Linked DNA regions of Homo sapiens: all the other regions are linked to region 3. Evidence: promoter capture Hi-C in human tissues and cell types (Jung and others, 2019). All regions are on one chromosome and are shown on one strand. Each heading gives the region's core, a stretch centred on a gene start or on the middle of the fragment in contact. The rest is flanking DNA. Distances are from core to core; before and after follow the strand shown. Region 1 overlaps APOL2 (apolipoprotein L2). Region 2 has its middle 16 kb from the start of APOL4. Region 3 holds the start of FOXRED2 (FAD dependent oxidoreductase domain containing 2). Region 4 holds the start of APOL4 (apolipoprotein L4).

Region 1 (6,214 bases), core at 3,528-6,027, 280 kb before region 3:
AATGGAAAGGAGTGAGACGCTGCAGCAGGAGAAGGAGCCCACCATCAAACTCCAAAGAGCTGGAGACCATTTGTGCGGTGGAGTCCGAGAAAGGTCGGCAAGGAAGGGGAAACATCATTTGGGTTCCTTGCCATAGTTGTCCTCAGCTGGCATGGTTTGCTCCAGCAGCAGGCTGGGATGCCAGCTGTGCCCAGGGCTGGATGAGCCACCCTCAAGTAAATGCTGGCCACTTCGTTGTGACGCCAAAAATTCAGAAATGACTTGGTATGACAAAGAAGAAGGAGGACTCAACGTGCATAGGAGATTGGAAGGTTAGATTGGATTTCTCAGGTCCTTCCTGCCCACACTGCATCCTGTGAGGGCCCAGGAGATTTCTCTTTCCTTTGGTGAGAAGAATCAATGGATAACCAGGAACTCTCTGGAATGGGGGACGGGCTGGGACCTTGGTATCTTTAGGGTGGGAGAAATTCCAAGAGGCCAACTCCTGGGGAGGCAGGTCATGGCCAGAAGAAAAGAGAGTGTGGGCACCAGGTCAGGCAGCAGGGAGTGCACATGATCACGGCTCAGGGAAATTCCACAGGCACACGGTCCCAAAATAGAGCCGGCGGAGAGTCCACTGACTTTGCACAACCACCAACTTGGTGGGCAGACACCTGTCACAGGTCATCATGCTGGATGGCCCCTGCTTGTCACCCAATTCTCAGGCCTGACTCATAGGACAGACCCAGAGCCCTTGAAGGAAAGGGAGGTCAGGAGTCTGCGAAAGGCCCTGTCATTCCCCTTAAGTGCAGCCTGTAAGCGTTCCTCCTACCTGTTCTCCCTGGACCTGGAGCGTCCTCTCAGATCACAGGGGACGGCTTAAAGGAAACTCATCCCCAGGACTTCTGGATCCTGGCTACACTGACACCAACTCCTGGGACCCATAATAACTCAGAGTGCCACTGTGGCCTTCCGGTCAGAGGAGGAGATTACAGGGGGACAAGTAATCAGTGAATACCTGATTTCAGTTTAGCTTTCAGTGAGTCCATTAGGAACCTCCCCTCACCTGGTCATCATGTTTTCAGTTCCTGGGTGGATCACTGGAGTGCGTATTCTTGGAAGCTGCAGATTGTTAACCCAGACCTCCTGAACTAGGAAGAGGAGAATGGATGCTGTTCTCTCCCATGAAACAACTTTGTTCCATCCCTGGGCCCTAAATGCTGACATCTTTGATTGTAGAAAGCAGACATCTACCTCTAGTTTGCAAAAACTACATAGAGATGAATGACTAACAGCAGTGAAAAGACCATGAGGGCTGAATTCAGGTGCTTACAGTGAGTCATCACTGTAAGAACAGGCCTCTCTCAAATTCTGCTGCACTTTCCGCCCAATCCACCTGCTCCAGCCAGACCTGGACTGCTGTGGAACAACTCTCAAGGATGATTCCTGAAGAGCAATGGAGCACACCTCACAGTCCAGGCTGCCTGGAAGGGGCGGCGTCCTCGGGCCAGGATCTGCATTGTTTCTTAGGTAACAGCTGAAGATTTGGCTGGAAGTTCAGCCTGAGGCAAGCCCATGGGGATAAAGGCCATGGATAAAGGCCTCCCTCTCTCCTCCCTGGAGACAAAGATTCTGAGGACGCTTCTTGAAGGCACCTCGGAAGGTCTCATTGCCCATATGGATGACCCATTCAAAAACTTCTCCTTGTATCAACTTTTCCTCCTTCCCTCCTGGATCCTCAGTTCTGCTCCTAGAATCACTTCCCACACAAACCCTCTACACCAGAACGTTGCCCCTGGCTCTTCCTTCACAGGACCCCAGGCCACAACAGGCTACTTTAGGCAGCATCATGGCCTACATCTTTGTGCTAAGAGTAATGGGAAGCCATTAGAGGGTTGGAAGCAGGTGCTCAATCAAACCTATGTTCTTAGGTGGGCATGGTGGCTCATGCCTGCAATTGCAGTCCATTGGAAGGCCAGGGTGAACAGATCACCTGAGCTCAGGAGTTTGAGACCAGCCTGGGCAAGATAGGGAAACCCTGTCTCTACAAAAAAAAAAAAAAATACAAAAATTAACGAGGCATTGGGGTACACACGGATGGTCCCAATTGCTCAGGGAGTCAAGGTGGAAGGATAGTTTGAGGCCGGGAGGTCCAAGATGTGGTGAGCCATGATTGTGCCACGGTTTGCCAGCCTTGCAACAGAGTGAGAGTATCTGAAAAAAAAAAAGAAACTATATTGTTAAAGCCCAACCTGGCCCAGTGTGGAGCATGGTCCAGGACATGGGAGGGACAGGGGCAGGGGCACAGAGAAGACCATTCTGGAAGTTCTTGCAGGAGTCTGGGCAAAACGTGAGGACAGACTGGATGGGAGTGTTTGCTGTCTGGATGTCTCTCTTTGTCCCTCTATTTTTCGCTGATCCTCTCCCAATCTGCACACAGGCCCCTCTGACACTAGTTAGCCTCGAGTGTCCCGTGTCAATCCCGGGCTCTGACTCACAGATGGAAACCACACCTGTGCTCAGCCAGAGCCAGACATGTACAAGCTTTCCCCGAGTGCCCCAATGGGCTTGGGGTTTTGAGGTCTCAGGGAAATGACCAGCTGGGAAAGTGAGAGTCCAGTGAGCGAGCAGAAGGGGTCTTGAAACTTCGCTCCCTGAGACCCTGGAAGAAGGATCATGAGGAAGGTTAAGTCAGGCACCCAGAGCCCAGGGGAGCCTCCATCGGCACCACAAAGTCACAGCCATCAGTCAGTGCTGATTGACTCAAGTCTCCAGAACACAAGATGGGGAGAGCAAGGTGGACCTGAGATATCACCTTTTCCAGCCCCCTTCTACAGCTGATGAGGAAACTGAGGCTCAGAGGGGTGAAGTCTCATGACCACAAGCAGGGTTGAACTCCTGGACACACCTCAAGCTTCCTTGACCTGTTCCTGGCATCTCCTTTCATTTTTCCTTTCTTCCCAAATTAACCTCTTTCCAACACAGCACTTCAAGTTCCCCTGGAACTTCATCGGTCCATCGGTGTCCCCTGGTCTGGAAGAGCACCGACCACTTGCCAAGGCCCCCACCACTCTGCTGCCATCACAACCACCATCACCACCATTACGAGAAAAACTTGAGACTGATGGCCCCCAAAGCTTAGAAGGAGCTGAGAGACCAAAGAATGACTCGAACAAGTCCAGCTTGGTGAGTAGGTGAGTTTATTGGGACTTACACACAGGTCAATCCTGGGCAGCGACAGGACAGCTCTAGAGATCTGTGCTTCCTCCCAATGCTAAACTGCTTTCATGCTAATCTTCTGACTGTTTACTTACCGGCTAAGAGCGATGGGACTGTTTTCATTGGTTGGTTCTCAGATACTCTCTGGGAAGTTTGGGTTCTCAGGGACACCTGCTCCTCAGCTGGGGATTGTGGCCATGGCCTACCACCTGCCTCTCAGGGTTCAAGCAGGGGACATGCACCCTTTAGTAACCTGGAGGGGACCCGTCACATGACAACCACCCCAACCACCATCATGAAGAAGCCACTGGCTGACTGTGATACACCCCCAGAAGGACAAGGGAGAGTGGATGCTGGAAAGACAGAGCGAGAGACCATCACCAGGGAAAGACTTTATTCTTGGAAGGACATCAAACCTGGGGGGGGGTCGGTAGTGGAGCTGCTGTTTCTTCTCCTGTATCCAACAGTTCTAACTCTGGTTTTCTCCATTTTCAGCTCTTTCTTTTCCTGGCCTTCTCATTGCTGGTTCCTGCAAGCTCCCCCTCTATTCTTCGCCCAATATATTCTTTAGTCCAAAGTAAACTACTTCTTCCCATTCCCCACACTCTCCAGTCCTCTCTCCTCCCTTATTGCAGGCTCCAGTGTTCCTGCCTTCTCCTTGGTGCACTTGCCATCTGCATTAACCCCTCCCTTGCTGTGCTCAGCTACACAAATGCCAAAGTCACTAACACTCAGTTCCATAAGCTTTACCTTGCCCTCCTTATCCCCCTAATAAAATGTCTGCATTTTGGCCAGGCGCGGTGGCTCACGCCTGTAATCCCAGCACTTTGGGAGGCCGAGGTGGGCAGATCACGAGGTCAGGAGATGGAGACCATCGTGGCTAACACAGTGAAACCCCGTCTCCAGTGAAAATACAAAAAAATTAGCCGGGCGTGGTGGCAGGTGCCTGTAGTCCCAGCTACTCGGGAGACTGAGGCCGGAGAATGGTGTGAACCCGGGAGGCGGAGTTTGCAGTGAGCCGAGATTGAGCCACTGCACTCCATCCTGGGCGATAGAGCGAGACTCCATCTCAAAAAAAAAAAAAAAAAAAAAAAAAAGTCTGCATTTTGTCCTGGCCTGTGCCCGGCATTTCTGCCCTGGTGGCTGCACTGCTCTGGGGTCATTGGTCTTGGCCTGGCTGCAGCATCTCATGGATCTTGGTGAGAAAGTTGAGCTTCCCCTCCAGCTCCTGAGCCCGCTTCTTCAGCTCCTCAGCTGACTCTGACTTTGCCCCCTCAAGCAAGTGCTTTGACTCATATGCAAGGCTGACCACATCCAGCAGAAGCAAGATGCCTCCAGTGGCTGCACCCACGATCATGGTTCCTCTGCTCATTGCCTGGGCGGGGCCTTCAACAACCCTCTCAACCTGTTCACCGCCTTCAGCTGAGATTCGCCCAATGACATGCGGGGGTGGGGCATACGCTCCTAACTGAGGGTTGGCTCTGGCTCGTCTGATGGCACGGATGTTCCTCCCAATCCCTTGTGTGACTTGGTACCAATTGTCAACTAAGGTAAGAACATTGGGTGTGTTCCCACCCACAAACTCCTTCATCACCTTTGCTACATTGGTGCCGCTTTGGTCCAAGTTGCGGGCTTGGGCTCGTGCCCGCAATTTGTTTACTAGTTCTACCACACTGCAGGTAATCCCAGCCACAGCAGCTGCTGCTCCCAGACCCATGCCAGTGTCCAAGAGCACAAAACTGATTCCTTCTGTGAAGGGTGCCAGACCCAGGCCGAGGAGGGTCAGGATGCCAGAGGTAGTGCCAACAGAGTTGGACACCACATTGGCAATGGTGGTGCCTCTGTGGACCTGCTCAACCTCCTCTGCAAGGGCACGGAGCTTCCTTATGTGATCCTCAAGCTCCCTTTTCAACCGAGGAAACTCTTTCAAAAACCACTGCCTGTGCTGCTGGTCTTTATCGTGGCGGTTTTTGTCCTTCATGACCATGTGACTTGCAAGCTTGTTCAGAGCTTTACGGAGCTCATCTGCCTCATCCCTGCACAAGGAAAGGTTAAAGGATTAAGAAATGCAGTTTCCCTATCTGTGAAATGAGCTCCATGCGATCTCTATCCTGTGTAAATTGCAGAGCTTTCACTATCAATCAAATAGAAACAAATTTTACAAATGGAATTAATTATCTTTCAAACTCAAACACATTTTGTTCATCATAGATATTCCTCAGTACTTATTCCATATGGAAATAAATATCTTAAAGGCACCTCAGATGCTCTTTCATGGTAGGTGTTTGATAAAGATGCCTCCTCACTCAAGGGCAGGTCAACACCGTGACTGCCAAAGTGTTTGGAGAGGGAAAACTCTGCAGATGAACAAAGAGCAGTGAGAGTGAGACAAAGAGACCTTATTACCAGGATGGCAGGAAAGTGAAGCATGAACTTTACCCAAAGAGAGGCCTTCCCTTTGTCCTCAGCTCCTGGGAAGTGATCTCCAGGCCCCTGGAATGTCCTGCCTGGTAGGAACATCTTTCTTTGCCTGGTGATTTGGCCACGGGACAGTATAGCGATGTGATGGATGATAGGGTTTGGGGCTATTTGGTGTCTTTCCTGACTTCCAGAGGACTTGGGGACTAAAGGTGTGAGATCTCAGGGAAGGGCTGGAGACTCTAGCCATGAGGGCAGCTTGTGATCCAGCCCCAGCAGATACTCTGGACACTAAGGCATGGGTTGAGAAAGAAGGACTTTCTCCTTGACCAACTCCAGCTGGGCTCTTCAGAGCTTCTTCTCCACTAGGCGCCGACCTTGGCCTTCCACACTCACCCACTGCTTTCTGGACTTGCACCACCTTGGCTCAGCAAGAATCTCCCCAAATCAGTTTAGGGAGGGTCCTCCCCGCTTGCTGTCTGAGCACCGTTTGTTATCTGATCATGCTCCTCACCCCCACCACTGGTGGTTGAGGGTCTGACCTGCCTTTGGCGAGAATCCTGTTAGGCCAGTTTAGCAGGAACCCCCCACTCTGGCG
Region 2 (5,876 bases), core at 1,220-3,719, 320 kb before region 3:
CTCTGTTTCTAGACAGCCTGCGTTCAAGTCATTGTGGCCCAAGACTGAACTGCAGAATGGAAAGGAGTGAGGCGCTGCAGCAGAAGGAGCTCGCTGTCAAAGCTCCAAAGAGCCGGAGACCATTTGCAGGGTGGGGTCTGAGGGAGGTTGGCAAGGAAAGGGGAGCATCATGTGGATTCCTTTCCATAGTTGTCATGAGCTAACACACTTCGCCCCAACAGCTGGCTTAGATTCTAATTGTGCCCAGGACTGGCCATGCAACCCTTGAGTAAATGCTGGCCACCTCTCTATGACACCAAAAGGCCAGAAATTACCTGGCATGATAAAGAAGAAGGAGTCAAGTGTATAGGAGACCGGAGGGTTAGACTGGATTTCTCAGGCGCTTTCTGCCCTGACTGTGTGCTGCCAGGGCCCAGGAGATTCCCCTTTCCTTTGATGAGAAGAATCAGTGGATATTCTCTAGAGCTCTCTAGAATGGGGGAGGGGCTAGGACCCTGGTCTCTTTAGGGTGGGAGAAATTCCAAGAGGCAAACCCTAGGGTGAGGCAGGTGGTGGCCAGAAGAAAAGAGTGTGGACACCAGGTCAAGAAGCAGGGAGGGCGCATGATCTGGGCTCAGGGACGTTCCACATGCAGAATCCAGCAACAGAGCTGGTGGACAGTCTACTGACTTCGCAAAACCCCCAGTCTGGTGAGCAGGCACCTGTCACAGGTCATCATGCTGGATGGCCCCTGCTTGTCACTCAATTCTCAGGCCTGACTCATAGCACAGACCCAGAGCCCTTGAAGGAAAGGGAGGCCAGGAGTCTGCAAAAGGCCCCGTCATTTCCCATAAGTGCAGCCTGTGAGCGTTCCTCCTACCTGTTCTCCCTGGACCTGGAGCGTCCCCTCAGATCACAGGGGACGGCTTAAAGGAAACCCATCCCCAGGACTGTTGGATCCCATCCAGACTGACACCAATTCCTGGGACCCATAATGACCCAGAGTGCCACTGTGGTGTTCCAGTCAGAGGGGGGGTTACAGGGAACAAGTAATGAATGAATATCTGATTTCAGTTTACTTTTCAATAAGTCTATCACCTGGTTATTATTTTTTAAATTCCTGGGTGGATAACTGGAATGCATATTCTTGGAAGCTTCAGATTGTTCACGTAGACCCACGGATGATGACTATTTCAGTGACAGACGCCGGTGGAAGCCGTTGGTTTTACATACCTGCCTAAATATTTTAATCAGAGTCAACAGCAAATTCATGGAGGAGTTAGAGAGATTGCTGCCATCATCAAGGTTTAAAGGGAGCAGAAGCAGTGATTCCTGTGACTCACCTGTTCACCTCTTCAATGCAGCCAGTCGTCAGCAGGGAAACAACTGTTTGTCTTCCAACAGCAGAACAAAGCAGGAAGCTCATCAGTAGAAGCTGCCATTCCTAAGGTGTTCTTGTTAATGAAGCAAATAAACACAGCCTGCAGCTCTCAGTCTCTATCAATCAGGCTTCTTGGTCAAGCAGAGGTACCATCTCTGGTTTTTAAGGGCAGAAAACAACATGAAATTCACTGGAATCATATCAGAAGAGCCCCACCTGCAGAGGAGGCTGGAGTTTGGCTTGGAAGATAAAAAGAAGCCAAGACAGTGACACGGTATCAAGGCTGCGAGCACAAGAGCCCTGCTTTGTGAGGAGTGACACGGCCACAGCGCTGCCCCGCCACCTGCGGACATCATCTCTGCAGGTGCAGGACTCGGTCGCCCTCTTCTCTATTCTCCTCCTGGGCAGTCCTGCTGCTCTCACTGAGAATGGGTTCTAAGCACCCTGGGCTTTGCCTCACTTGCTCCAGTTTCAGAATCCCATGTGGAAGCAGCCAATTAGCCAGCCTAGCTCTTGGACAGGAGCCCTGGATGCCAGAGTGGGGGTAGGGAGTGGGAGAATCTACTTGCCTTAGAATCACAGAGGGAAATGGGCCCAGCCTCTCTCTATGACTACACATGCTGGCAAACGCCCAAAGTAGGAAGAGGAAAATAGATGCGGAAGAGTTCCCTGCTGTGAAACAAGTTTGTTCCATCTCTTGGTTCTAAATATTGACATCTTTGATTGTACAAGGCAGACCCCTAACTCTAATTTGTGAAAACTAAATAGAGATACATAACTCACAGACCATGAGGGCTGAATGCAGGTGCTTACACTGAGTTATGAGTACTCAACATCTCTCAAATTCTGCTGTGCTTTCCTCCTGGCCCACCTGCTCCCACCAGGCCTGGCCTGCTGTGGAACACCTCTCAGGGATGGTTCCTGAAGAGCAGTGGAGCACACCTCACAGTCCAGGCTGCCTGGAAGGAGAGGTGTCCTCGGGAAGGATCTGCCTTGTTTGCTGGGTAACAGTTGAGGATTTGGCTGTAAGTTCAGCATTTTAGAAGGAATACGTCTGGAGGCTTGGTGACAAAGATATTTAGGGAAGAGGTATACAGATAAAGATTTTAGAATGAGCCCAGAGCAAAAAAAAGAAAGAGAAAAAAACTACCCCTGTCCCATGTGAATACTGACTAGAAAGTCTCCACTCTCAAGAGACTCATATACAGGGAAGAAGTCACTTTTGTGGCTGCAAGTCTCCTCTGTTCCCAGGGCGGCCCGGTATTTTCAGAATGGGCTCCATAACCAGGTGCGTGATGTGGAGCTCGGTGTAACCACGCAACACGGATCCCTCCTCAAGGCTGAGCACTTGGCATCGTCCAGTGAATCTCAACCCCGGAAGTCACAGCCTTAGAGAGCATGGAAATGGCCCGAAGGGGACTCAGTTCCATGTCAGAGGCTGGGAACTGCCTTTAGGATGTGCTATGTTTTGAATTCATACCCAAAATTTACCTCATTTCCTGTGATAGCCAGAATTTATGGAGCTGGACAGTAAGAGGTTAAGATGAGGGTGATAGCTCTATGGTTACAAACAATAAGTCACTTTCAAAAATCTTGTTTACAATACCCCTAACTCAGAGACTTTTAAGTCTAGAAGTTTCAGTATCTAAGGTGGGAATGCCTCCTGCAAGGCTGACAAAAGTGGTTTCAGAGGTGCCCATAGCTGGCTTCTCATGCTCCCTGATGTAGGGATAGCAATGACGTCACTGGGTTAGATATAATCATGGATCATGATCATCCAGGGAAGCTCATGTTGTTACTACACAGCAGGACATGAGGAATCGAGGGATCCCCTAGGATTGCTCCTTGTAATACTCTAACAAGTTGTAAAGGTGAATAGGAAATTTCACCACCTTACTGAGGCCAGACCATCAAGGAGCTTAGACCCCACAAGAATGACTTCGCCCATAAGTAAGAGGAACATTGAGTGGAACAGTCAAAGACTTGTGACGGTGGCAGCAATGGTCAGTGGTGGTTGTAGCCTTGACCGCACCTCTCTGTTTCCTACAAATATACACACAGAAAATGCTGAGATAGGAGCTGCCAATGGACCAAGAGAAAAATTGACAGTGTGCCGAGGCCTTCCTCCTGTGACATAACTTCAGCATGCAGAAGAGGGCGATGGTGTGTGTGGCTCTCTTTGGAGAAGAAGCAAGTGCATTTGTCTTTGTCGTTCGGATGGCTGGATTCATAACAGGTAAAGAGAGTTTTTTGTTTGTTTTTCGAGACGGAGTTTCGCTCTTTCACCAGGCTGGACTGCAGTGGCGTGATCTCAGCTCGCTGCAAGCTCTGCCTCCCGGATTCAAGCAATTCTCCTGCTTCAGCCTCCTGAGTAGCTGGGATTACAGGCATGTATCACCATGCCTGGCTAATTTTTGTATTTTTAGTAGAGACGGGGTTTCATCATGTTGGCCATGCTGGTCTTGAACTCCTGAACTCAAATGATCCGCCCGCTGCAACCACGCGAAGTGCTGGGATTACAGGCGTGAGCCACTGTGCCCAGTCGAAAAGGGTTCTTTTTGTTTGTATGAGAAGAAGGGTACGTGTGTGTGGTAGCAAGCAGTTGACTATATACAATAAGCACAAATTCAGGTGACTGTTTGGCCAGAGGCTTCCCATTAGGGTTTGTGTCTCTGTTACTCATCGCTGTTCCTGATACCATAGCCTGACTGATTGGTTCAAGAACAGTCACTGACCCAAGCTATCCTCTCATTTGAGAATGTGAAACTTTAATCAGAGACACTAGGAATCAAAGTGTGTGGAGCTAAGCCAGGTGCAGGCAGAGCCCTGAAAGGGCAAACCATATATTCCTGATGTTGGTAATGGTCTGCTCCTGTCCTTCCAAATTCTGTAGATTTTGTTCTTCCTTCCATCCTCTGACCTGCTCTAGTTTTCATCCAATGAATCTTCTATTTTGTTTAAGACAGATAGTTTCTGTTTCTGTTGCTTGCAATTGAAAAATTTTTAAACAATACTAGCAGTACAGTGGAATTGCATCAAATGCAGGTAGCCTGATGGCATTTCAACTCTAAGTGTCAGGGCAAATGCTGGCTGGATCACTGAAGAAGTAAATTACTCAGTGCCAGAAACATTCAAAGCTTAAGTGAAATGTATGAAAAGAATGGGAATTATCCAGGAATTGATGAACAATTGACAGACAAATGAAACACAATGTTCTGGCGTTAGGCAAGTCGGTGGCCGTTGCTCTGTTGACTTCTTCAGGAAGAAATAGATGAATCAACTGAAGGTCAGGGAAGCCTTGGCTGATGGAGAGTTACAGGGACTGAGGCAAGTGTTCTGCAGGATGCTACATAAAAAAGGACTAAGTAGGCCCTGGGTGCACTTTACGAGTGACTTAGGAGAGGTTCTGGGGTGATTTTGTGCATTCTGTATCTCTTGCCCCTGCTCTGGGCTCCAGCTGAGGCGCCCAGCAGTTCTATATTCTATGCATGGAAATACAGATAATTAATGTCCACTGGGGCAAGGCCATGGGGGACAGGAGCAGTGGTTACAGGCCTCCCTCTCTCCTCCCTGTAGAGGAACATTCTGAAGACGCTCCTTGAAGACTCCTCAGGAGGTCTCCAGTCGCCCACATGGGTGACCCTATCAAGAATTTCTCCCGGCATCAGCCTTCTGTCCTTCTCTGTGTCACTCCTCCCAGTACCCCAGTCCTGCTCCTAGAATCACTTCCCAAACAAATCCTCTGCCTGGGAGCCTTGCCTAGGGCTCTCCCTTCAGGGGAACTCAGGCCACAGCAGCCTACATTAGACAGCATGAAGGCTCTGGGCTTTTGTGCTAAGAGTAATAGGAAGCCATTGAAGACATGGAAGCCGGTGTTTGATGAAATCTGTGTTTTTATGGGTCAACTTGGCCCAATGTGGAGGAAGAGCTGGCCTAGCGGCAAGGGCTGTGTATCAGCGAAGACCATTTTGGAAGCTTTTGCAGGAGTCTGGGCGAAGTGAGAAGGCTGACTGGATGAGGGTGTTTGCAGACTGGATGAGGGTATTTGCTGTCTGGCTGTCTCTCTCTGTCCCTCTATGTCTCATGGATTTTCCTTCAACCTACATACAGGCCCTTCTGATCTTAGCCTCATGTGACCCATGTCAATCCTGGGCCCTGGCTGCTAGATCAGGACCACGCCTGTACTAGAGCCAAGCCAGAAGTCTACAAGTTTTCCCTGAGTGCTTCAGGGGCCACTGGGCACTGGGTTCGCAGAGAAATGAGCAGTCTGGAGAGTAAGCAGAAGGGGCCATGGAGGCCTAGCTCCCTGAGAGCCTGGAAGAAGAATCATGAGGAAGAGAAGTCAGGCACCCAGAGCCTAGGGGAGCCCATATATCAACACACAAAGGCTCAGTCATCAGTCAGTGTTGCTTGAACACAAGTCTCTAGAACACAAGAGAAGAGGGCCAGGTGGATGTGAGATATCATCTTGTCCAGCCCCCCTTTCCCAGCTGATGAGGAAACTGAGGCTCAGAGA
Region 3 (6,021 bases), core at 604-3,103:
TTCTGTACCAGGCCCTGTACTAAGTGTATCTGTGCACCATCTTTCTGACTCCTCCAAGCAACCTGGAGGTGGTATGTGGCCTGCTTTACAGGTGAGGAGGCACAGGCCCTGCAGGCCCATGGCTTGAGAGCTCCTAAAAGCAGCAGAGCCAGAGTCTAAACACAGATAGGCTTGATTCCAAAGTCCTGCTCCTTCCATTGGTGAGGATCGCCATCCAGGGGAGGGCAGCTGGGGACTTGGATCCTGCCGGCTTGCAGAAGAATGCTTTGATCACAGAGTGGTTTCAAAAATAGAATTGAAGGCCGGGTGCGGTGGCTCATACCTGTAATCCCAGCATTTGGGGAGGCTGAGGTGGGTGGATCTCCTGAGGTCAGGAGTTCGAGACCAGCCTGGCCAACGTCGTGAAATCTCATCTCCACCAAAAATATAAAAAAATTAGCCGGGTGTGGTGGTGCTTGCCTGTAATCCCAGCTACTGGGGAGGCTGAGGCAGGAGAATCGCTTGAACTAGAGAGGCGGAGGTTGCAGTGAGCTGACCTCGTGCCATTGCACTCCAGCCTGGGCGACAGAGTGAGACTCCGTCTTAAAAAAAAAAAAAAGCGAAATACCCTTTTTCGTCCATTCCTCCCATACCTACTGGCCAATCAAGGTGTGTGGTTCGTGTGGGGAAGGTCCCAGCTTCCGCAGGTGAGCTCTGGCACCGGCCTTACCTGCACTGATGCACCTGGCCCTTCTGGTCAGTTAGGATGAAGTAGTGGCCATTCCAGGCCTGTCGGTCCTTGTCCAGAGTGACGTGGGCGATGGTGGTGTTGTACTGGACACGGAGCCCCAGCGTGTCCGCGAAGTCACCCAGGTAGCGCACCATGTCGCGGGCGTCGGGGAAGTAGGCACGCGAGTAGTGTCTGAAGAGCAGCCGGGGGTCGTGGCTGAGCAGAGAGTTCCAGTCGTGGCGGAGGTTGAACTCGGCGTTAGCCTTGCCCGTGTACCGCTTGTTGATGCTGATGAGCTTGCGGTGCCGCGGGTAGCGTGTGAAGAAGCTGCCGGGCCGCGGGGCCCGCTCGAACACTGCGTAGTCGCGTCCAGCGCGCTGCAGGAAGTAGGCCATCTGCAGGCCCGCGGGCCCAGCGCCCAGCACGCAGTAGTCCCGGCGCGGGGGCACCGACAGCGCTGGGTGCAGGGCGATGGCCAGGAGCAGCCCCGGGGGACCCCACAACGGGGCCGCAGCGGAGAGGCCCATCCTGCAGCAGATCAGAGGGGTAAGGCCTCGCACCCGGCCCGGCGGCTGGGAGACACGAGGCCCAGAAAGAGGCGGGGCCTGCGGGAACTCTCACTGCAATCTGGGTCACGGCCAGGCCCAGAAGCCGTCCTCAGAGCTCATTTGCCCGGACTCCACCGTTTCAAGCTGGGACTTGGGGCTCCCCGGAATCCCGAGCCCCTCCATCTTATCTCCCTCAGGGTCTCCTTCCTCAGGGGCACCGGCTCCCCGCTTATGATTGTAGTAACCTCCACCCTGGGGAAGGAGAGCGTACTCCCCAATTTTCCCCTAATTTGAGGGTGCCCAACACCCCTTTGAACCACCCTCCAGGTTGGACCTTCCAGAGGCCTTGGCCCCTCTCCAGCGACCGGGTGGGAGCCTGAAGTGGGTGTGGCCTGCGTGCGCCCCGCCCCCTGCCAGGGTCCGCGCGCCCCAGGCTCTTCGGCCACGTGACAGGGATGCCGCGCACACCTGCCGCCCGCCCGCGTGCGCTTCAGGAGCCGCCAGGTCCCTACGCCCGCAGCTCCGGCCTCCCCGCCTCCGACCGAACCCTGAGAAACGCGCGAACCTCCCAGCCGCTCCGGCTGCAACCCGTGGTCTAATGAGGCCGCGCTTGGCTCGCTTGCTCCGCGGCGGCTCCGCCCCTCGCGCCCGGACCAATGGCAGGGGGCGGGGTCACGTGCGCGGCGCGCGGCACGCCGGGACCAGCTGGCAGGCTGCCTGCTCCGGCCCAGCGCGGGAGAGGCGCGCGCGTGCTGCGTTCGCTGCTCCGGGGGCTGGTAGAGGGGCCTGGGGCTAGCGCGCACCCGCGAGGGTGGAAGGTCTGGAGATCCGGGATGGGGAACTGGGTCCTTCGTTTTAAAAGGTGCCTCTCTACACGGAGGGAGGGGAGCACGTGATTTTTGGAGCTAATCCTAGCTCTCATATTCCATGAATGTAGCCAAACGCTAAAACTAGTTGGCCTACCCAGTTTTGTGGGACTGGAAACCAGCGTGGTGGAGCCAGGACCGATAAGCCAATTAACAAGCGTTTGCTACAGTGACTCAGTGTACTGCTTACCAAGTAACATACACGACTGTCCTAATCTTCCACCAAATAGGAGAGGTGGGCAAGGCATTGTTTCCGACATTTGGTAGCTGACTGGTCAAATGGAGACATAGGGATGAAGGGATATGTTTACAATCACAGGAAGTGGAGCCTGGAATTAAAACTCAGTGGAGGCAAGATAAATGGCAGGAGGAAGATAACGTGAACTGGATGATGAAGGTTGGCTTCCCAGGGGTGGCAAGTGGCCCCTGCATGAGATTTACATGGGGAGAAATACGAAGTCAGTGTAGGAACCTTCAAAGTCCAGTGAAATGGGGCTGAGTGTTCTTGGGGGAAGGGCAGGTGGAAAGAACTGCGAGCCTGCAGATTTGCATGGCTGGAGATTCTTTGAATTAAAAATCGTAGCTGGGGACTCCTTAGAAAAATTTTCCTGACCTCTCAGGCCTACAAGTACCTACCAAAGAATGTCATTTACTTTTTCTTTTTTTTTTTTTTTTGAGATGGAGTCTCACTCTGTCGCCCAGGCTGGAGTGCAGTGGCGTGATCTCGGCTCACTGCAAGCTCCACCTCCCAGGTTCACGCCATTTTTCTGCCCCAGCCTCCCTAGTAGCTGGGACTACAGGTGCCCGCCACCACACCCGGCTAATTTTTTGTATTTTTAGTAGAGACAGGGTTTCACTGTGTTAGCCAGGATGGTCTCGATCTCCTGACCTCGTGATCCGCCCGCCTCGGCCTCCCAAAGTGCTGGGATTACAGGCGTGAGCCACCGCGCCTGGCCGAATGTCATTTACTTTCTTCAGTCTGTGTCAACATCAGAGAAAAGCTCCCTCAGAGCAGAAATTGTCCAGTATCTGACATACGGAAGTTTAAGCATTTGTTGAATAAGCATTGCAACCAGAGAGGTCAGGCAGAATACTTTGCCAAAAATAAAGTAGGGATGTCTTATTTCTTCTTTTTGAGACAGAGTCTCACTGTCACCCAGGCTGGAGTGCAGTGACACAATCATGGCTCACTGCAGCCCTGACCTTCCAGGCTCAAGCGATCCTGCTTCAGCCTCCCAAAGTGCTAGGGATTACAAGTGTGTGCCATGGCCCCTGGCCAATTTTTCAAAAAAATTTTTGGGGGCATATGTGTATATATTTATGGGGCATATGAGATGTTTTGATAGTCATGCAATTTGGGGATGTCTGTTTCTTAGTGGTTGTGAAGATTATGAGAATGGGTGCTGGCAAACAAGTTCCTAAAATAATTGCTGGTCTTATGTGGTGAATACAGTAGTGGGAAATTAAACAGAATTCGTCAAGTATGGTAGGGCCCTACGAGTAGGCTGAACCTAGATTGTAAGCAACAGGATGCTACTGGGAGTTTCTGAATGTAGGATTACTGCAGCAGTCAACTTGGTAGCCCCATGCAGGACAGATAAAAGCAGTGGACAGCTACTCGGGAGGCTGAGGCAGGAGAATGGCGTGAACCCAGGAGGCGGAGCTTACAGTGCCTGAGATTGCGCCACTGCACTCCAGCCTGGGCAACAGAGCAAGACTCCGTCTCAAAAAAAAAAAAAAAAAAAAAAAAGGCAGTGGAAACTGATGCAAAGTATTTTCAGGGAATGAGCTTGAGTCACTTCCACTTGCTTCTGTTAATCCTGTTGGACAGGGCCATGGTTTGCAAGAGGCAATTTGGTGAATACTGGTCCAACCTGGAAACCCCCGGCACTAGTCACACCACTTTAATCTGTTTTTTAACACTCTGTATTCACATTGAAAACTCCCCAAGTACACTTTTTCTCTCCACTGCTTCTAACACAGTTCAAGAAACCTTTTGCTTGCTGAGGTTCGATTCATTAAAATTAATTTTGTGTTTTTTCAAGCTACTTTAAAAAAAAAACCTGTAACTTTAGAAATGCTGAGCTTTTTTTGAGAGTCTCTGTAATCCAAATTGGAGTGCAGTGGTGTGATCTCAGTTCACTGCAACCTCCGCCTCCTGGGTTCGAGTGAATCTCCAGCCTCAGCCTCCCAAGTAGCTGGAATTACAGGCGTGTGCCACCATGCCTGGCTGTTTTGTATTTTTAGTAGAGACGGGGTTTTGCTATGTTGCTCAGGCTGGTTTTGAACTCCTGACCTCAAGTGATCCACCCACCTCGGCCTCCCAAAGTGCTGGGATTACAGGCATGAGCCACTGCACCTGGCCTTTTTTTTTTTGATAAAGGGTCTCCTTCTGTCACTTAGGCTGGAGTGCAGTGGTGTGATCATAGCTCACTGCAGCCTTGAACTCCTGGGCTCAAGCAATCCTCCCACCTCAGCCTCCTGAGTAGCTGGGACCACAGGTGGAAGCATCATGACTGGCTAATAATTTATTTTTTTGCAGAGACAGGCCCTGGTCTCCCTGTGTTGCCCAGGCTGGTCTCAAACTTCTAGGCTAAAGTGATCCTTCTGCCTCAGCCTCTCAAAGTGTTGGGATTAGAGGTTTGAGCCACCATGCCTGTTTCCTCACCTCTACAATGGTACTACTCCTGCCAGCATCACAGTTCTGTATGAGGCTTAGATACTACAGAAAGCTCAGCATTAATACCTGGCAGGGTAATTACTCCATCAAGTGTCCAGAACAGAACAGTGTCCACTTACATAGTTTACATAGCCTCGGCTGGGTGCGGTGGCTCACGCCTGTAATCTCAGCACTTTGGGAGGCCAAGGCGGGTAGATCACCTGAGGTCAGGAGTTCGAGACCATCCTGACCCATATGGCGAAACCCCGTCTCTACTAAAAATACAAAAATTAGCCAGGCATGGTGGTGCATGCCTGTAATCCCAGCTACTGGGGGGCTGAGGCAGGAGGATCGCTTGAACCTGGGAGGTGGAGGTTGCAGTGAGCCGAGATCATGCTACTGCACTCCAGCCTGGGCAACAAAGTGAGATTCCGTCTCAAAAAAAAAAAAAAAAAAAAAAAAAGTTTACATATCCTCAACATGCAGAGCTCTTATGACACAATGCTTTGTAGGGACAGGCCTGAGTGTCACCAGCCCAAGCCAAGCTTAAAAACAATTCATAAACCATTACACAATCACCCAGTGGGACATCCATCAAGCTCTCTGTGGCAGCCTCCCTCAGGCGCAGCAGCCCCACCTCACCCACACCCTGCTTCACGCTGTACTAGTGCTCTGCACTCCAGCTCCTCACAGTGAACTCTCCAAAAGCAACAGGTGGCCCTTCACACAGCCAGCAGGCACTCATGCTTGTGGAAATGGACTTCTTATAACAAATGAGGACACCCAGATTCTGAATTCCACATAGAAATTGCTGAATCTCATCCCCACTCTGTCAGGAATCTTTGAAGAAACGACTGTAAATCGTTAATGCAGGCAGACGATGAGGGAAAGACTAAACAGATATATATTTTATTTCATCTGCTAAATGTCAGAGAGCAAGTTAGACACACATTCCACTAAGCATCAAAGGCCCTCGTAGTCTCGGTGGAAGGACAAACTCCAGCTCCACATCACTGGTTTAAGTTTCTTCCTCTGAAAGACACAAAAAATGTAAGAGAAATGAGCCAGGTTGTGTGATATGATGTTCACTTTCCTTTCTGAACCTCTGCTGGACTGTGCGTGAGTTTTCAACACTTCCATTCCGAAGTTAAGCCTTTCAGATGCTCACAGGGCTGGGCAGGTATTTCCTTCAGTCACCAGCTGGTGGAGCAGGAGAGACAACTTTCAGGCTATTTAACC
Region 4 (5,439 bases), core at 2,206-4,705, 310 kb before region 3:
GCACTTCCATATTCACCCGATAAACACTTGTCTTCCACAGTTTTTCATCATAACACAAAACCTCCTCCAGTTTGGTTTTCTCTATTTATGAACTCCTTCTTATTCAGATAAATGTTGTTGTGCCTCAGATGTTTCTTTGACAAGGGGTACTTTCGATGATTGGACTCAGCCCAGATAAAGAGGTGCTTGTGACAGGCAGTGCAGGGTGGGTGCCCTAACACAGCTCGGGAAGGGGGTGGCTTCCACTTACAATCAACAGGGGTCAGGTAGAGGGGATGGGAACCACCCCTTAGGGAGGCCGTACTGTGTGGCAGGCACTGGCTGGCCCAGGTACCCATGTAATGTTTGATCCTCATGACAACATGGGCAAATATCCTAGTGGTGCAGGTGAGGAGGAGTAAGGAGCTCCAGGTCACACAGAGGGGACATGGCCAAGACCAGAATGGGGTCCAGTTCAGTGGGAAGCTGGGTCACTCTACCCACAGGGCCACTCAGAGCAGAGGGGCTGGTGCAGGGCAAGAGCTGGAGGGAGGGGACCGGCCTCTGCTGGAAACACCCCAGGGTCAGCCAGGAGCAGAGAGGGAGGTGAGAGGTCAGGGCTGCTGGTCAACCTCCTCTCCCACCCCTCCGCTACTCCTGGCCAACCCTCAAAAGCCAACCCTGCTGTTTCCATTTCCCCAAGGCTGTCCTGCCCCACTTAAGTCATTTGCTAGGTGTCAGGGTAGGGAGGAAGTGGGCACCTGGGCCATGACCCGCTGAGGAGAGGTCAGGATGCAGATGCCCCCCAGAACCCTGGGTCAGGGGACTCCACGTGGCCTCTCTTGGGGCTTGGGGCAGCCTCATCAGCCACCTCCGTCTGGGTTCCGTTGGGGCTCACTCAGCCTTGAAGACACCACCCTCCATTCTAGCTGTGGGTAGGAACCAGCCAGGGAAGAGGAGGCGAGCCTACCAGCAGCCAGGTCTCTGAAAGGCTTACCTTGGAACTGTCCAGCCACTGTCCAGCCTGGATGGTTTTGCTGCACCCTTGAGGAAGAGAAAACAAATTGTGGGATTGAATGTGAGCCACCTATGGGCAAAGGGAGGCTTGAACAGCTGGGCCTCTGCAGATCCCTCTGAGGTGGCAGCAAATGCCAAGACCAACCTAACCCAGATTCTTTCTCTATCACCAAGTCCCCATCATCTGCTATTTACAGACACTCAACTCATTCCAGCTCCCTCTTCCCTCACTCTCACACCAAGGAAAAGTCCGCTTGTCCTGTTGGAGAATGAGGAGAAGATAATCAGAGGAGGGGCAGCCATCTGATCATTACAGAAACTACACAGTCTATACGCAGAAATAGAGATGGGAAGGAACGTTCTAACAATGACCGGAAACATGTGTGACAACTAATTGATGATAGCCAGTCTGTATTGAGTGTCTGTGATGTGCAGGGCTTCTTTTTTTATTTTTATTTTTATTTATTTATATTTTTTGAGACGGAGTCTCGCTCTGTCGTCCAGGTGGAGTGCAGTGGCGCGATCTCGGCTCACTGCAAGCGCCGCCTCCCAGGTTCACGCCATTCTCTTGCCTCAGCCTCTCGAGTAGCTGGGACTACAGGTGCCCGTCGCCACATTCGGCTAATTTTTTGTATTTTCAGTAGAGAAGGGGTTTCACCGTGTTAGCCAGGATGGTCTCGATCTCCTGACCTCATGATCAGCCCGTCTCGGCCTCCCAAAGTGCTGGGATTACAGGCGTGAGCGGTCGCGCCGGGCCTGTGATGTGCAGGGCTTCTGACATGTGTCTCATTCAATGATCACACACAGCCCGGGAGATGGGTACCACTTTCCCATTTGAACACAGAGGAATCCACAAAAGTTAGGGAACTTGCCAGTGTTTTCTATTGCTAGAGCCAGGACTTCTGCTTCAACCTCATGTCTTCAATGACTGTGCTCTACTCCCTTAAATATACAATATTGAGTCATGTATACACGCTCATGGTAAATGACTCCTCATTGCAAATCCATGTCTCACACTCCGTGCTCAACTTTTCGTCTTGGTGAATTCACTGGTGCTGCAGTGGACAGCCTGTGTCCCCCTTGCTTCTCTAAGATCCTTTGTCCCACAAAGACCTGGATCCTGCCAGATGCCGGCCTAGCCCCTGCTGTGGCTGCCGAGCCCTCCTGGCGCTGCCCTGTTCCCTCTGCTGTCCTCCCCTAGCTGATGGACCTTAGGGTGTTTCTAATTCTTCATGTAAATTATGCTACAAAGAACACCCTCCTTCACGTAAAACTGCCCACATTTGATTTTATTTCCTTAAGATATTTGTAGGAGTAGAATGACTAGGTCAGAGGGTATCAACATCTCAAAATGTTTTATACCTAGAGCCACACTACATGCAAATTGTACCAATTCACACTCAAACTAGCAGTATATGAAGATGCCCATTCTTTCAGTCTTACTGGCTCTCAGTAGTCTCTTTATCAGGACAAAAAATATATACACAACATGTAAATTTGAGAACTAAATATCTTGTTATCAATACCAATTAGTACAAACTTTAAGGCACGAAGGTAGCAGTTGAGATGTGAAGCACTGAACAAAGGAGAAGGAGGATTAATATTGTCATTTTTTAAAGATGGAAGTTAAGAAATACTGGGTACAACTGAGGGTATAAGAAAGTTGTAAGTAAATTGTTTACAGCTACAAAGTTGCTAATGGAAGACATAAAACTGGTGATAGAATGTTAGGAAAAGGTGGAGAGGAGAGATAGAGGGAGGGTACAAATAAGATGAAAATGACTAATAATGATACTATAAATAATAACAATACCATTTCAGGCCCATCCCAGTTAGGGGCGGCTCCAAGCATTACCATTGTTCTTTTCTCACCGTGTGTCTCTGCGCACTCCCTGGCACACCCACTTCCAGCAGCTGGTCTTTGTTTGCAGACTTTATTTTAACAGCTCAGTGGTTCCCGGGCCCCCTGATGGGGTTCCATCCTCCAGCTCTCATACTAAAGCCCCCTCCTCAAAAGCCACTCGCCTCCCTCTTTCCCTTTCCTGCCTTTGTCTCAGGGTTCAGACACACAGATGTCTGTCTTCTGGGGCCCCCATGCAACAAGGGTAAAAGGGGGACCCAGTCCTGGGCAGCATTCACCAGGGGAGTATGCAGAGGGGCGTCTGGGCGCTTCTTGCTGTAAGGGACAGGGGTGACAGGAGAGGGGCATCCCTTCGCCTTCTTCCTGCTTTGTTCACTGTGTGACCCCCTAGGCCAAGGCAACCATCTCAACACCATGAGCCAGTAGAACTGGGAGGACCAGGAGAGAGCAGAGGAGCAGGAGGGCAGAGAGCTGGGGCCTCGGACTCACCCGACGCTTGTGATGAGCTGCACCCAGGATCCCATCCTCCTTGGTCATTGTTGGCCTGGCTCAGACGCTGATCTGGGGCCTCTGCTGAATGTTGAGGCTGGATACTGACTGTTAGCCTCAACTAGGACACAGTGCGTCCCCTCTAGGCGAGTCTACCAGTTGGTCAATTCCGGGAAGTGATTTTGGTTCCTAGAAAAACCCACATGGCTCCTGGCCCAGCCCAAGCCCTGCCCAATTGTGCAGCCCAGACAGGGAGCCCTCCCTCCCACCTCAGGGCTCTGAGCCAAGCTCACCAGATGCAGACGACAAAGATTTTCAGCAAAGCAGCTCCCTCCATGTCGCTGCGGGGCCTCCTCCTTGGGCAGGAAAAGAGGGGTTGAGACAGTGTGCTCCTCCTGAGAAATCACCATTTTCATTTCATTTTTAATAAACCGTTTTGCTGTGTCACCCAGGCTGCAGGGCTTTGACGCCATCCTAGCTCATTGCTGCCTAGATCTGCTGGGCTCAAGTGATCTTCCTCCTTCAACCTTCTGAGTAGCTGGGACTACAGGTGCACGCTACCATGCTGGGCTAATTTGTTAATTTTTGATTTCATAGAGACAGCATCTCCTGTGTTTCTCAGGCTGTCTTGAACTCCTGGCCTCAAGTGATCTTCCCGCCTCTGCCTCCCACAGCACTGGGATTACAGGCTTCAGCTATAGTGCTTTCTATCTTGATGGGCATCTCTTTTTGGTGAAGAAAAATCAGGCCGGGAGCGGTGGCTCACGCCTGTAATCCCAGCACTTTGGGAGGCCGAGGCAGGCAGATCACAAGGTCAGGAGATGGAGACCATCCTGGCTAACATGGTGAAACCCCATCTCTACTAAAAATACAAAAATTAGCCGAGTGTAGTGGCGGGCGCCTGTAGTCCCAGCTACTCGGGAGGCTGAGGCAGGAGAATGGTGTGAACCCGGGAGGCGGAGCTTGCAGTGAGCAGAGATTGCGCCACTGCACTCCAGCCTGGGCAACAGAGCGAGACTCCATCTCAGAAAAAAGAAAAAAAAAAAAAGAAAAAGAAAAATAAGACCACGACTCAGATTTCACAGAAATTACCCCCCTGATTTCATGGACTTTTGGCAGCTCTATCAGGTTTCTGAGAGGGGAAAATCTTAGGCTGGGAGGGGAGGTGACTTGCCCAGAGTCGCACAGCTCTTGGAGAGCAGACGGGAAGCCAACATCTGCCCTTGTGACTCTGCTATTGAAGAAAAACGGGTGATTTTAGTAATCCAACAGTGTCCAGGTTTGATTCTGCTTCTACAAACACAGAGATCTAAGCTCTCACTCCTGTAGTTACACTCACAATTCCACAGGTGGCTTTTGAATCTCATGATTACAAAGCTGGCGTCATGCCACAGGCACCATTCTGCAATGCGACCTTCTCACTCCCCTGTCTCAGCCATGTTTCCTATTGCGGGATCTGGCCAGCAGCCCCCAGTGCAACGGGGCTCTCTCTTTGCTCCTAGGCGGATCGGCAGGTTGAGAAATAATAGACACACACAAGATAGTGAAAGCTGGGTCCAGGGGGGTCACCGCCTTCTGGTCAACAATGCACTGGATATACCAGCATTTATTATTCAGTTTAGTGAGGGCGGGGGTAGGTTAGTGAGGGATTTAGGGTCATTTGATTACGAGGTGGGATGGTCACATGGGGATGAAGTAATTCTTTAACATAACATTCGTATGTAGAAGTACAGTGCATTTGTATGTAGAAGTACAGTATACAGAGATAAGAATTTACAATATAGTGTGTGCGTCAGTAATTTCTAACAGAGCCTTAAAACAGAAACACAATCTTTCCATAACCTATGATTAGCAAGATATTAATCAGCAGTAACAATTGCAACAAAAGCTGGTTACTGACAATCCATGGAAACAGGACGTGAAGCTAGATAACCGGTTAGACTAGAAATTCTCAGAAGGGAGTATACCTGAACCCTAAAGATGCCTAGAAGAGCCACGGCAAGATGATAGCATTTATAGCCCTAGCTTGTCCATATGGACAGGCGCCCCCCTGCATCCATTCATAGGCTCTCTGCAGGGGGAAGCACATCACG

What was found. Contacts are between HindIII fragments. The study calls those that stand out against the background at their distance.
Region 1: a contact is called between a fragment that was not itself captured here and the fragment with the promoter of FOXRED2 in region 3, in 2 of the 25 tissues and cell types used here (bladder and spleen).
Region 2: a contact is called between a fragment that was not itself captured here and the fragment with the promoter of FOXRED2 in region 3, in 3 of the 25 tissues and cell types used here (lymphoblastoid cells, mesenchymal stem cells and thymus).
Region 4: a contact is called between the fragment with the promoter of APOL4 here and the fragment with the promoter of FOXRED2 in region 3, in 9 of the 25 tissues and cell types used here (IMR-90 fibroblasts, adrenal gland, aorta and 6 more).

The regions. Positions count from the first base shown.
Region 1 is chr22:36,223,047-36,229,260 of GRCh38, forward strand. It overlaps APOL2 (apolipoprotein L2), which reads right to left. Exons shown (of 5, transcript NM_030882.4): 5 at 3,163-5,234. The coding sequence ends at 4,358. Among named protein-coding and RNA genes, the nearest start is that of APOL2, 13 kb to the right of the region's middle. RefSeq lists an enhancer at 4,117-4,795. The HindIII fragment of the contact is 3,547 bases long and covers 3,005-6,214 here.
Region 2 is chr22:36,182,928-36,188,803 of GRCh38, forward strand. No RefSeq gene overlaps it. Among named protein-coding and RNA genes, the nearest start is that of APOL4, 16 kb to the right of the region's middle. The HindIII fragment of the contact is 4,893 bases long and covers 24-4,916 here.
Region 3 is chr22:36,505,187-36,511,207 of GRCh38, forward strand. It overlaps FOXRED2 (FAD dependent oxidoreductase domain containing 2), which reads right to left and starts at 1,854. Exons shown (of 9, transcript NM_001102371.2): 1 at 1,823-1,854; 2 at 710-1,237. The coding sequence starts at 1,236. EIF3D (eukaryotic translation initiation factor 3 subunit D) reads right to left here. Exons shown (of 15, transcript NM_003753.4): 15 at 5,669-5,814. The coding sequence ends at 5,801. RefSeq lists a silencer at 1,601-2,100. The HindIII fragment of the contact is 18,149 bases long and covers 1-6,021 here.
Region 4 is chr22:36,198,354-36,203,792 of GRCh38, forward strand. It overlaps APOL4 (apolipoprotein L4), which reads right to left and starts at 3,456. Exons shown (of 4, transcript NM_001386885.1): 1 at 3,347-3,456; 2 at 977-1,023. The coding sequence starts at 3,381. RefSeq lists an enhancer at 3,432-3,931. The HindIII fragment of the contact is 28,208 bases long and covers 1-5,439 here.